Regions from separate parts of the Homo sapiens genome. Here all the other regions are linked to region 2. The links are contacts of gene promoters, found by promoter capture Hi-C in human tissues and cell types (Jung and others, 2019). All regions are on one chromosome and are shown on one strand. Each heading gives the region's core, a stretch centred on a gene start or on the middle of the fragment in contact. The rest is flanking DNA. Distances are from core to core; before and after follow the strand shown. Region 1 holds the start of TRAP1 (TNF receptor associated protein 1). Region 2 overlaps ADCY9 (adenylate cyclase 9). Region 3 holds the start of CORO7 (coronin 7).

Region 1 (3,292 bases), core at 233-2,732, 260 kb before region 2:
TAGTAGAGACAGGGTTTCACCATGTTGGCCAGGCTGGTCTTGAACTCCTGATCTGCCCACCTCAGGCTCCCAAAGTGCTAGGATTACAGGCGTGAGCCACCGCGCCCGGCCACAAGGTATCTTTTATAGACCACTGGTTTTGAAAAGACATAAGATTCAGCGTTGAAGAAAATACCTTTGGAATAGGCAGTCTTGATGCCTGCTAAAGGGGATATAAATTGATAAGGCCTTTTTGGACAATTTGGCAGTATCTGCTAACATTTCAAAAATGCATAGGCTCTGAAATATCAATTCTAAAATTCTAATTATGTAAGGCTAAAGAAATACCGCACGTGAACAAATATTTAAGTACTCACCCATTCTATGCAGCATTGTAATAAAAAGTAAAACCTGAAATAACCTTTATTGCGTCCACTAATAGGACAATGTTTAAACAAATGACACGTCCATCATACAGAATACTGTGTGGTCACTGGAAGGCACATGGACCTGTATACACTGACATGAAAAGATGTGGAAAGAATGCTGGGAGCGTTAAAATTTTCTGAAGTACAACGTAGCACAATGCATACATGGTTTAGGCTTTTTAGAATAAAAAATACTTATACGCAGACATTTATATTTACACGTATAACACTGTGTACAGCCCCGAAGCAATGCCGAAACTTTCACTGTTGTTACCTCCGAGTGGGGACTGGGAAAGCAGAGGTTAGGGTCGTTCTCTCTGTTTTACAAACATTTATTGGCGCATCCATCAATTCCAGGCCCCGAGGACACAGCTGCGTCAACGACATCGAGTCCACCTGCTCTGGGGACCCGGATGACTGCTATAGGTTTTGTTCACTGTGGCGTCCCCAGAACCTGCACGGCGCCGGGCACTGAGCGGGCGCTCACATGTGCGTCCAATGAACGAATTAACAAATGAACCCTCAGTGCGCTACTGGGAGGCGGGGAGGGGTAAAGCACGATCCATGGAACTAGCACGATCACCCCGAGTGAGTCCATTCCCCGCAACATGCACCCGCAAAGACTCCGCGCTCCGCAGCGGCTCCACCTGCACGTGCGCTACCTGACTGGACCGAAGCTCCAGGAGGGACGACCCCGCAGCCGCTCCGCCCGACCCCGCGACCCCCCAAGACCCAGCCTCCTTCAGGGCTCCCATGGGCGGGTGGCGAGGGGAGTCCAGCCGAGGAAAAGGCAGCCAAGCTGGAGCTGGCGAGGAGCGGAGCGAAAGTAAACGCGTCTGCCGCGCTTGGCCTCGCCGGACCTCCCACGCCTGTGAAGCAGGTGCCGGCGCCTCGCTCCCCGGAGCACAGGGACGTCCCTGCCGTCTCCGTGGCCCGGCCCGCCCGCTGCCCGTCCAGCCAGGACGCCCTCACCTCCCGGCACGGCCGCCAGCGCCGGCGCCCGCAGCAAAGGCCGCAGGCGGCGGCCCCACAGCAGCAGCGCCCGCAGCTCGCGCGCCATGTCGTACTCCCAGAGCGCCGCGCGCAGCCACGCGGGACCGTACACGATGGGAAGGGGCGGGACGGGGCTGCGCGGGGCGGGGCTTCCTCGGGCGCGGGGCGGTGACGTCACGGCGGGCGCCGGGCTGTCCGGGCAGCTGCCTGCTCGGGCGCGTGGCGGGGTACTACCCGTCTCGTGGACGGTCGGGCCTGGGGGTGGGACCTCCGTGACCTTGGATCGCGTTGTCAAGGGCGACGGGCCTTGCGCGCGGAGGTGGGGGAGGTGGCCCCGCCGCCCCCGGCCCACGCTGGCCGGCTGCGCCTAGCTGTGCGCATTCCTGGAATGGGGCGGATGTCAGTATCCACGCGAGGGTGTGGAGGCGACGCTGGGGAAGAAGCAGTTCCCGTGTCTGCGACCTTTGTGAATCCCGGCCATCCGTCTAGGCCGCTGCAAGTCTCTTGCAAACCAAGACTGGACAAAAAGCTAAAGCGAATGAGGAAGGGGATTCCAGGCTTGACTGGCTACTACTCCAAAACCTGAACCCAGTGACCAATACCACCAGGAAAACTGCGGTTATTCGTTTATTCCACTTCTCTTGTCCTTGTCGAGAAGAGTCAAACTCTAAAGTATTTAGAAGGTTATTCTGAGCCAAATATGAGTGTGCATGGAGGGAGGCACAGTCTCAAAAGGTCCTGAGAACTTGGCCCAAGGTGCTTGGGTTACAGCTTGCTTGGTTTTATACATTTTAGAGAGACATAAGACATCAGTCAATGCATGTAAGACATAGGTTGGTTCCGTGTGGAAAGGCAGGACAACTCAAAGGGTGAAATACTTAGAGGTCATAGGTGGATTCAGATACTTTCTGATTGGCAATTGGTTAAAAGAGTTGAGTTCTGGTTGGGCGCGGTGGCTCACGCCTGTAATCCTAGCACTTTGGGAGGCTGAGGTGGGCGGACTGCCTGCGGTCAGGAGTCCGAGACCAGCCTGGCCAACATGGTGAAAACCCATCATCTCTACTAAGATACAAAAAATTAGCTGGGCAAGGTGGCACGTGCCTGTAGTCCCAGCTCCTGGGGAGGCTGAGGCGGAAGAATAGCGTGAACCCGGGAGGCTGCGGTTGCAGTGAGCCGAGATCGTGCCACTTGCACTGCAGCCTGGGCGACAGAGCTGTGACTCCGTCTCAAAAAAAAAAAAAAAAGAAAACAAAAAAAAGAAAAAAAAGAGTTGAGTTATACAGACCTGGAATCAATAAAAAGAGTGTCTGGGTGAAGATAAGGGGTTGTGGGCACGAGCACGGTGACTCACACCTGTAATCCCAACACTTTGGGATGCCGAGGTGGGCGAATTGCTTGAGGTCAGGAGTTGGAGAGCAGCGTGGGCAACATGGTGAGACCCTGTCTGTACCAAACATACCTGTACCGGATGTGGTGGCGGAGGCCTGTAATCCCAGCTACAAGGGAGGCTGAGGTGGGTGGATTGCTTAAGCCCAGGAGGGAGAGGTTGCAGTGAGCCAAGTTCGTGCCATTGAACTCCAGCTTGGGCAAGAGAGCCACACCCTGTCTCAAAACAAACAAACAAACAAACAAACAAAAAACAGGTTGTGAAGACCAAGGTTCTTATTATGTAGAGGAAGTCTCATAGATGACCACCCTTACAGGTAATAGATGGCAAATGTTTTCGCAAATATTGTTTATTCAGACCGTTAAAAATTCCTAGACCCTCAGGATCAGGAAAAGACCTGCAAAGGTGGCCTGGCATGGTGGCTTACGCATGTAATTCCAGCACTTTAGGAGGCCAAGGTGGTCTTATCACTTGAGGTCAGGAGGTTGAGACCAGCCTGGTCGGC
Region 2 (3,611 bases), core at 1,112-3,611:
TTTTGGATTTCAAGTCAGTTATTTTATTACTTTTTGAGACACAGTCTCATTCTGTCACCCAGGCTGGAGTGCAGTGGCACAATCTTGGCTCACTGCAAGCTCCGCCTCCCGGGTTCACGCCATTCTCCCGCCTCAGCCTCCTGAGTAGCTGGGACTACAGGCGCCCGCCACCATGCCCAGCTAATTTTTTGTATTTTGTTTAGTAGAGACGGGGTTTCACCGTGTTAGCCAGGATGGTCTCCATCTCCTGACCTCGTGATCCGCCCGCCTCGGCCTCCCAAAATGCTGGGATTACAGGCGTGAGCCACCGTGCCTGGCTGATTTCAAGTCGGTTATTTTAAAATATTTTACAAAATAACTTTTTTCTTTGATTTGCGAGATTTCCTTTGTTGCATGCGAAAGTCTTACATAAAATTACATGACTGTAATGTCTTATTAAAATAATAAAACTAATTTTATTTTCCCCATTAGACATTATAACTATGATACAGTTCAACGAGGAGATATTTTCCACTTTCTATTCTAAGAATGCACGTATTGTTCCTTTTATTCAAGATCCCATTGTTTTCAGGAAGCTTCGAAATGGGCAGGGTAATACAGTCACTCTCGTTTATTCAGACAGAAGTGCAATATTAAAAGCTTACCTGAAATTCTGTACTGCGTCAAGGGGCGAAGTTAATACAGAACTGAAATTAAAATGCAGAAAAATATTATCATAAAGAGCAAAGAAGGCATTCCACAAGGCAACCTGAGAAGAGCTTGAACAAACTATGTTCCTTTTTTAGACGTGGTTGTACATCCACATAAAGCCACCTGCTCCCACCTCTTTCTTCACATCTGTGTCTCCCAATGCTGGGGGCAGTTCCCTTGGTAAAGCTGAGTTTACGTCTTTGTTTACCATCCCGCATCCTCTCTATCCTGCTGAGGCTTAGCAACCGTGATGGGATTAGGGGCTCTGAGGCCTCAAGTGGATGGAGGAGTTCTGGGCCGAGTGGAACTTCAACCATCATCCCTACCCCAGATCTGCTATTTGAACTCTGGGCACAAAGGCGGCAGAGGGGTCCCCCATCACTGTGGCTCTCCAGCTCCAGGTAGAAAAGCCCCGCAGCCATGACTAAAGGCCACGGTGAATGCCCGATGAGGGACCTGTGATGGATTTAAAAGGTAAAAAGCAGTTTGCTGGATTTCATACTCTCGAGAAAGAGCTCATCGTGACCATCGTTCTAGATGGCCATACCTTCAGAAAAATCCAAGTCTGCTTTATTTTGCTTAATCTATTCATTAAAGTTTCCTTTCAAGTACTGAATGACAGTCCTATTTTAAATTCCCTTTTTGATCTTAATTTGCAGGGAATTTAAATGTCTTTTGTATTGTGATTCTTTTCTTAAGTAAACTGAGGACGGATGCTCACACTGCCCATGGCTGGACTGTTGCTTTGCTAATAACCAAAGACACCCCGTGCCTACTCCGTCTGATACTGACAATACTGCGGCAAATAGAATCATTTTGTGCTTTTGAATGAATTCAAGCAGAGGTCCTTGGCAACAGCAATGCCACTCCAACGGGGCATTTCGGAAATGCCAGGGGTCCCTCTGGTTCTCTTAATAACTCAGGGAGCCAGAATGTTAGATCTCCTGCAAGGACAAGGAAGAAATGTCCCATGTGACTTTAAAACATTCTGCGCACCTAAACCCTCTGTAATTGTAAACAGGCGGTTCTTCAATACACACTAATAGTGAAACATTTTTATAAGCAGTTATAGGAAAAGCCCAATATTTGGGAGAAATTTATTACATGAATGGAAGCTTAATGGGTTTAAGATATCACGAAATATTTGAATAAATTGTTCACTGCTTACATTCTGTTATACAAGGTATTACTGTATTTCCAACAACACATTTAGTTGAAAAGGCTTAAAATACCCTGAAACCAGTAGCAAATGTGTAATAGGCAATTTTGAGACTTATTTTTTATTTTTATTTTTGGAGACTGAGTCTTGCTCTGTCACCCAGGCTGGAGTGCAGTGGCGCGATCTCGGTTCACTGCAACCTCCGCCTCCCAGGGTCAACCAATTCTCCTGCCTCAGCCTCCTGAGTAGCTGGGACTACAGGTGCACACCGCCATGCCTGGCTAATTTTTTGTATTTTTAGTAGAGACAGGGTTTCACCGTGTTGCCCAGGCTGTCTTGAACTCCTGAGCTCAGACAATCCACCCGCTTCAGCCTCCCAAAAGTGGTAGGATTACAGGCGTGAGCACCAAGACCGGCTGGGACTTATTTTTAACAAATCAAGAATTATTCAGTTAGTGCAACACATGAAAGATAGGGATCTTACTGGATGTCGCTAATGGCAAATATTTTAAATATAGCACCTATCACTGCCATCCTGTAAGTTTTTACATTTTTTGTAGTACAATGATGAGAACTGGGCTTGTCCCCAGAGGTCTACCGGCCTCCCTGACTCCTGTTTCTGTGTCTGCGCCATCCCATTCCTCAGCACCTACCAGTGATACGGTTCTGAAGGCCAGCGTCCTCCTCAGTATGCAGAGGATTTCAAAATAAAAGACCTATGTTCAGTGACTGGTCATTAATCCTACGTCTCATGACATCATATGGGGAACTGTTTTGACCTATTTATTATTTTTTGTTTTTGAGATGGAATCTCACTCTTGTCACCCAGGCTGGAGTGCAATGGCACAATCTCAGCTCACTGCAACCTCCGCCTCCCGGGTACAAGCGGTTCTCCTACCTCAGCCTCCCAAGTAGCTGCGATTACAGGTGCACGCCCCCATGCCTGACTAATTTTTGTATTTTTCGTAGAGACGGGGTTTCACCATGTTGGCCAGGCTGGTCTTGAACTCCTGACCTCAGGTGATCTGCCTGCCTTGGCCTCCCAAAGTGCTGGGATTACAGGCATGAGCCACTGTGCCCAGCCTGACATAATATTTTGAAATAAGCCCCAGGTGACTTGCAAGATCATCCTACGTCTTCACCTCCTCCTTCCAGGCTGTGACCTGTCCCGGTTCATGAACCCTACCCCACTCAAGGAAAGTCAGCACCAGCTTCCTCTCCACCTTCACATCCATCTGCAGCTCCGCTCTTTCATGGCCTTGACCATCTTCTATGAAATCCTTCAGGTCCTACTTTCTTAGATTCCAGCCCATTCATCAGAAGTCACCTCGGTATAATGCAATGGCAGCATTATGTTTTCCAGGATGTCTACATTCAACTACCCAGAGTGCTGTTCTAAATGATATTCTTTTTCTTTCTTTTGCATATTACTCTGAGGGCATCTCATTAGCTCTTTGGTATGATGTGTGCTGACAGCTATTTTGGGTCATGATGGGAAATATCTCTATCGGGGCGTGAGAAGCAATGTGCAAATGCAGCCAGGCCCTACGCAACCTCGGGCAAGGTGGCCACGCACCCTGGTGCCCGCAAGCAGTGCTGGCCGCGTACCTGTCTGGGCACAGGGAGACGTAGAGCAGGAGCAGCGGCCCGGCCCCCACGACGGTGGCGAGGGAGGACCTCATCCAGGAGCTGAGCTGGCAGAAGTTACAGTAGTGCACGACGGCAATCAGCGCGGCCGAGCCTGTGAACACTGGGAACTGCA
Region 3 (3,412 bases), core at 132-2,631, 440 kb after region 2:
GGCCCTTGGGTTCTGCAGGACCACTCTGGACTCATCTGTCACCATACTGCTCCGGCCATCCCCTCCATCCACTCATGCTCACTTTCCATTTCTCCACCAGGCTCTTTCTCAATTCTCACCCTTCTGGCCTCAGCTAAAATGCCATCTACTCCAGGCAGCCTTTCCTGACCACGCTACTGAGACTGGCCCCCTCCATTCTCCATCCCAGTCCCTCATGTGTGTTCTTCAATGTCGTTATGAAAACCTCCAATGCTCTTGTTTGTCTGCTTGCTGTCTCCCTCATGAGGCTACAAGTGCCACAGGGGAAGGAAAATGCCGTTGTGTTCACCGGGATGTCTCCAGCAGCTTAGCACAGCATAAAGTGGAAGCAGAGGAAATATAGTCCACACTACAAAAACGGAACCTCTACCCAGACTGCCCTGACTTGCTCTGGGACCCTGATGGGGTCACTTGAGGTCAACTCCTAGGCCCAGTTATCGGAGGACACTCCCAGGCCTTACAAATAACACGGAAAGCGGAAGAGCAGAGCTGACATCGTTTCCAAGGCGCACCCCTCATCAGTCCTCCTGCCGTTTCGGGGGTCCGAAGGGTCTCCCGGCACCTGGCTCAGCAATTCTTTGGGGCTCCACCTGCTCAGGCTTCCCCAGGCCCCACCCAGCCGTGGCAGCATCACCGAGATAAAGAAAGAGCTTGCGCCAGCGGCGAGAGGAGGAAGCACCGGCGGAAACCCGAGGGAGGGGCGCGTGCGGCCGAGGGGCTCCCTCCCCACCACTGACACACTTGGGCTCGCCGGGGCCAGAGGAGAGAGGGGCGTCTCCCCACAGCCCAGCCAGGGGCAGGGGCGACCCGGGGCGGCAGGGAGGAGGAGCCAGGCGCCGGCAGCGCCCCGAGCCCCGGCTCCCGGCGAGGCCGACCGGAAGCTGGGAAGGCAGGCGGCCTCGCAGGCCTGGGCCCCGGCTAGGAGGGCTGCGCCGCCTCGGGGGTCCCGGGGCGAGGTGGGCGAGGCGGGCAGACCGCCAGGGTCACCGAGCGCCAGAGCGAGTCACGGGAGTGCCGGACTCTGCCCTCCGGCGGCGACGAAACGGCCCGGACGCCGGGGCCCTGGCCTGAAGGGGGGTTCCCCGGGGATGGAGGTCTCGGGGTTCCAGACGGCCCTGGAGGGCACCCCTGTGGGGTCCGGGCAGGGGGAGGGGCAGCCGGACGGGGCCCGAGGCGACAGCGCCCGGTCCTCGGGCCGGACTCACCTCGCGGCGGGGCGGCCGAGCCTCGGTGTGCCGGAACTTGGACACCCTGAAGCGGTTCATGGCGACGGGCACGGCGGCGGACGCGTCTTCGAGGACCCCGGGCGTCGGGTCTCAGGTGCACGCTGAGCAACCGCGACTCCCGCTGCCTCGGCCCCACCCGGGACCCAATGCCGCGGTCACGCCCCCGGCGCGCCCCACTGCCAATCGCAGCCGTCTCCGGCCCCCTGGGCCACGCCCCCAAGCCCCTCTCCTTTCGCGCGCGCACCACCGGTCCCGCCTCCCGGCCAATCCAGGTACGGCCGCCCCGCGAGGCCACGCCCTGATACCGAGGGGACGGACTGGCGCGGGTGGGAGGTCACGTGGGGCGCAGCTGTCAGCCCACGTCTCCTGCGGTGCTTGCTTGCGTGGGGTCTCGGCTGCAGCATTCGCGATTTTGTGTGCAGGATTTGCTGTGGAGTCTTTGCGGTGTACCTAGCACGCCTTCCAGCACTATCTACCTCTTCCTGTAGAGAGGGGAGAAATTAGCTCCATTTCAGAGACAGGAAACCCCCGGCTAAAGGAGAGTGTAAACTGTCGGTCCCCAGGTCACACCAGTGGTAAGAGGCAGAGGGGGAACAGGGGCCCAGGTCTAAAGCAAATCCCTGTCCACCGGGCCTACTCAAAAGCCTCTGCATCCGGCCAGGCGCTCTGCATCCGGCCAGGCGCGGTGGCTCAGGTCTGTAATCCCGAACTTTGGGAGACTGAGGCAGGAGTATCCCTTGAGCCCAAGAGGTCGAGGCTGCAGTTATCTGTGACCGTGCCACTGCACTCCAGCCTGGGAGACAGAAAGAGACCCTGCCTCTAAAAATAATAATAATAATAGCTTTTAATTTTTCTTTAGTATTTATTCATTTATTTGACACGGAGTCCCTGTCACCCAGGCTGGAGTGCAGTGGCGCGATCTCAGCTCACTGCACCCTCTGCCTCGCGGGTTCAAGCAATTCTCTTGCCTCAGCCTCCCGAATAGCTGGGATTACAGGCGCCTGCCACCGCGCCCAACTAATTTTTTATTTTTAGTAAGAGACGGGGTTTCACCATGATGGTCAGGCTGGTCTCGAACGAGACTCAAGCAGTCCTCCCAACTTGGCCTGCCAAAGTGTGGGGATTATAGGAATGAGCCAACGCACCCAGCTGATTCTTGCATTTCTAAGGTTTGAAAAGCAATGCTTACATTTTATCTTAGTTCGGGCAGAAGTGTATTTACTGTGAACCAAAGTCACTTGTGGTTTATTGAAAAGGCTTTTTGTTTGTTTGTTTTGAGACAGAGTCTCACTCTGTTGCCCAGGCTGGAGTGCAGTGGTGTCATCTCAGCTCACTGCAACCTCCACCTCCTGAGTTCAAGCGATTCTCCTGCTTCAGCCTCCCAAGCAGCTGGGATTACAGGTGTGCGCCACTACTCCTAATTTTTGTATTTTTAGTAGAGATGGGATTTTGCCATGTTGGCCAGGCTGGTCTCAAACTCCTGACCTCAAGTGATCCACCTGCCTCAGCCTCCCAAAGTGCTGGGATTAGAGGCATAAGCCACTGCGCCCAGTCCAAAAAGGTTTTTAGAAAATCATCAGGTTGGCCGGGCGCGGTAGCTCACGCCTGTAATCCCAGCACTTTGGGAGGCCAAGGTGGGTGGATCACCAGGTCAGGAGTTCAAGACCAGCCTGGCCAAGATGGTGAAACCCTGTCTGTCCTAAAAATATAAAAATTAGCTGGGCGTGGTGGTGGGTGCTTGTAATCCCAGCTACTTGGGAGGCTGAGGCAGAGAACTGCTTGAACCCGGGAGGCGGAGGTTGCAGTGAGTCGAGATCGTGCCATTGAACTCCAGCTTGGGTGACAGGGCGAGACTCTGTCTCAAAAAAAAAAAAAAAAAGAAAAAAAAAGAAAATCATCAAGTGGCTGGGCATGGTGGCTCACGCCTATAATCCCAGCACTTTGGGAGGCCGAGGTGGGTGGATCACCTGAGGTCAGGAGTTCAAGACCAGCCTGGCCACCATGGTGAAACCCCGTCTCTACTAAAAATACAAGGCGTGGTGGCAGGTGCCTGTAATCCCAGCTACTCGGGAGGCTGTGGCAGGAGAATCACTTGAACCCGGGAGGTGGAGGTTGCAATGAGCCGAGATCATGCCATTGCACTCCAG

The links. Contacts are between HindIII fragments. The study calls those that stand out against the background at their distance.
Region 1: the fragment with the promoter of TRAP1 here is called in contact with a fragment that was not itself captured in region 2 in 3 of the 25 tissues and cell types used here (bladder, heart right ventricle and mesenchymal stem cells).
Region 3: a contact is called between the fragment with the promoter of CORO7 here and a fragment that was not itself captured in region 2, in 1 of the 25 tissues and cell types used here (dorsolateral prefrontal cortex).

Annotation. Positions count from the first base shown.
Region 1 is chr16:3,716,042-3,719,333 of GRCh38, forward strand. TRAP1 (TNF receptor associated protein 1) reads right to left here and starts at 1,483. Exons shown (of 18, transcript NM_016292.3): 1 at 1,380-1,483. The coding sequence starts at 1,467. RefSeq lists silencers at 1,084-1,203, 1,224-1,833. The HindIII fragment of the contact is 28,184 bases long and covers 1-3,292 here.
Region 2 is chr16:3,974,025-3,977,635 of GRCh38, forward strand. ADCY9 (adenylate cyclase 9) reads right to left here. Exons shown (of 11, transcript NM_001116.4): 9 at 3,458-3,606; 10 at 645-686. Among named protein-coding and RNA genes, the nearest start is that of TRIDDENT, 25 kb to the left of the region's middle. The HindIII fragment of the contact is 3,508 bases long and covers 608-3,611 here.
Region 3 is chr16:4,415,215-4,418,626 of GRCh38, forward strand. It overlaps CORO7 (coronin 7), which reads right to left and starts at 1,382. Exons shown (of 28, transcript NM_024535.5): 1 at 1,245-1,382. The coding sequence starts at 1,304. CORO7-PAM16 (CORO7-PAM16 readthrough) reads right to left here and starts at 1,382. Exons shown (of 31, transcript NM_001201479.2): 1 at 1,245-1,382. The coding sequence starts at 1,304. It overlaps LOC124903635 (a long non-coding RNA gene), which reads right to left. Exons shown (of 3, transcript XR_007064963.1): 3 at 1,511-1,747. The HindIII fragment of the contact is 38,450 bases long and covers 1-3,412 here.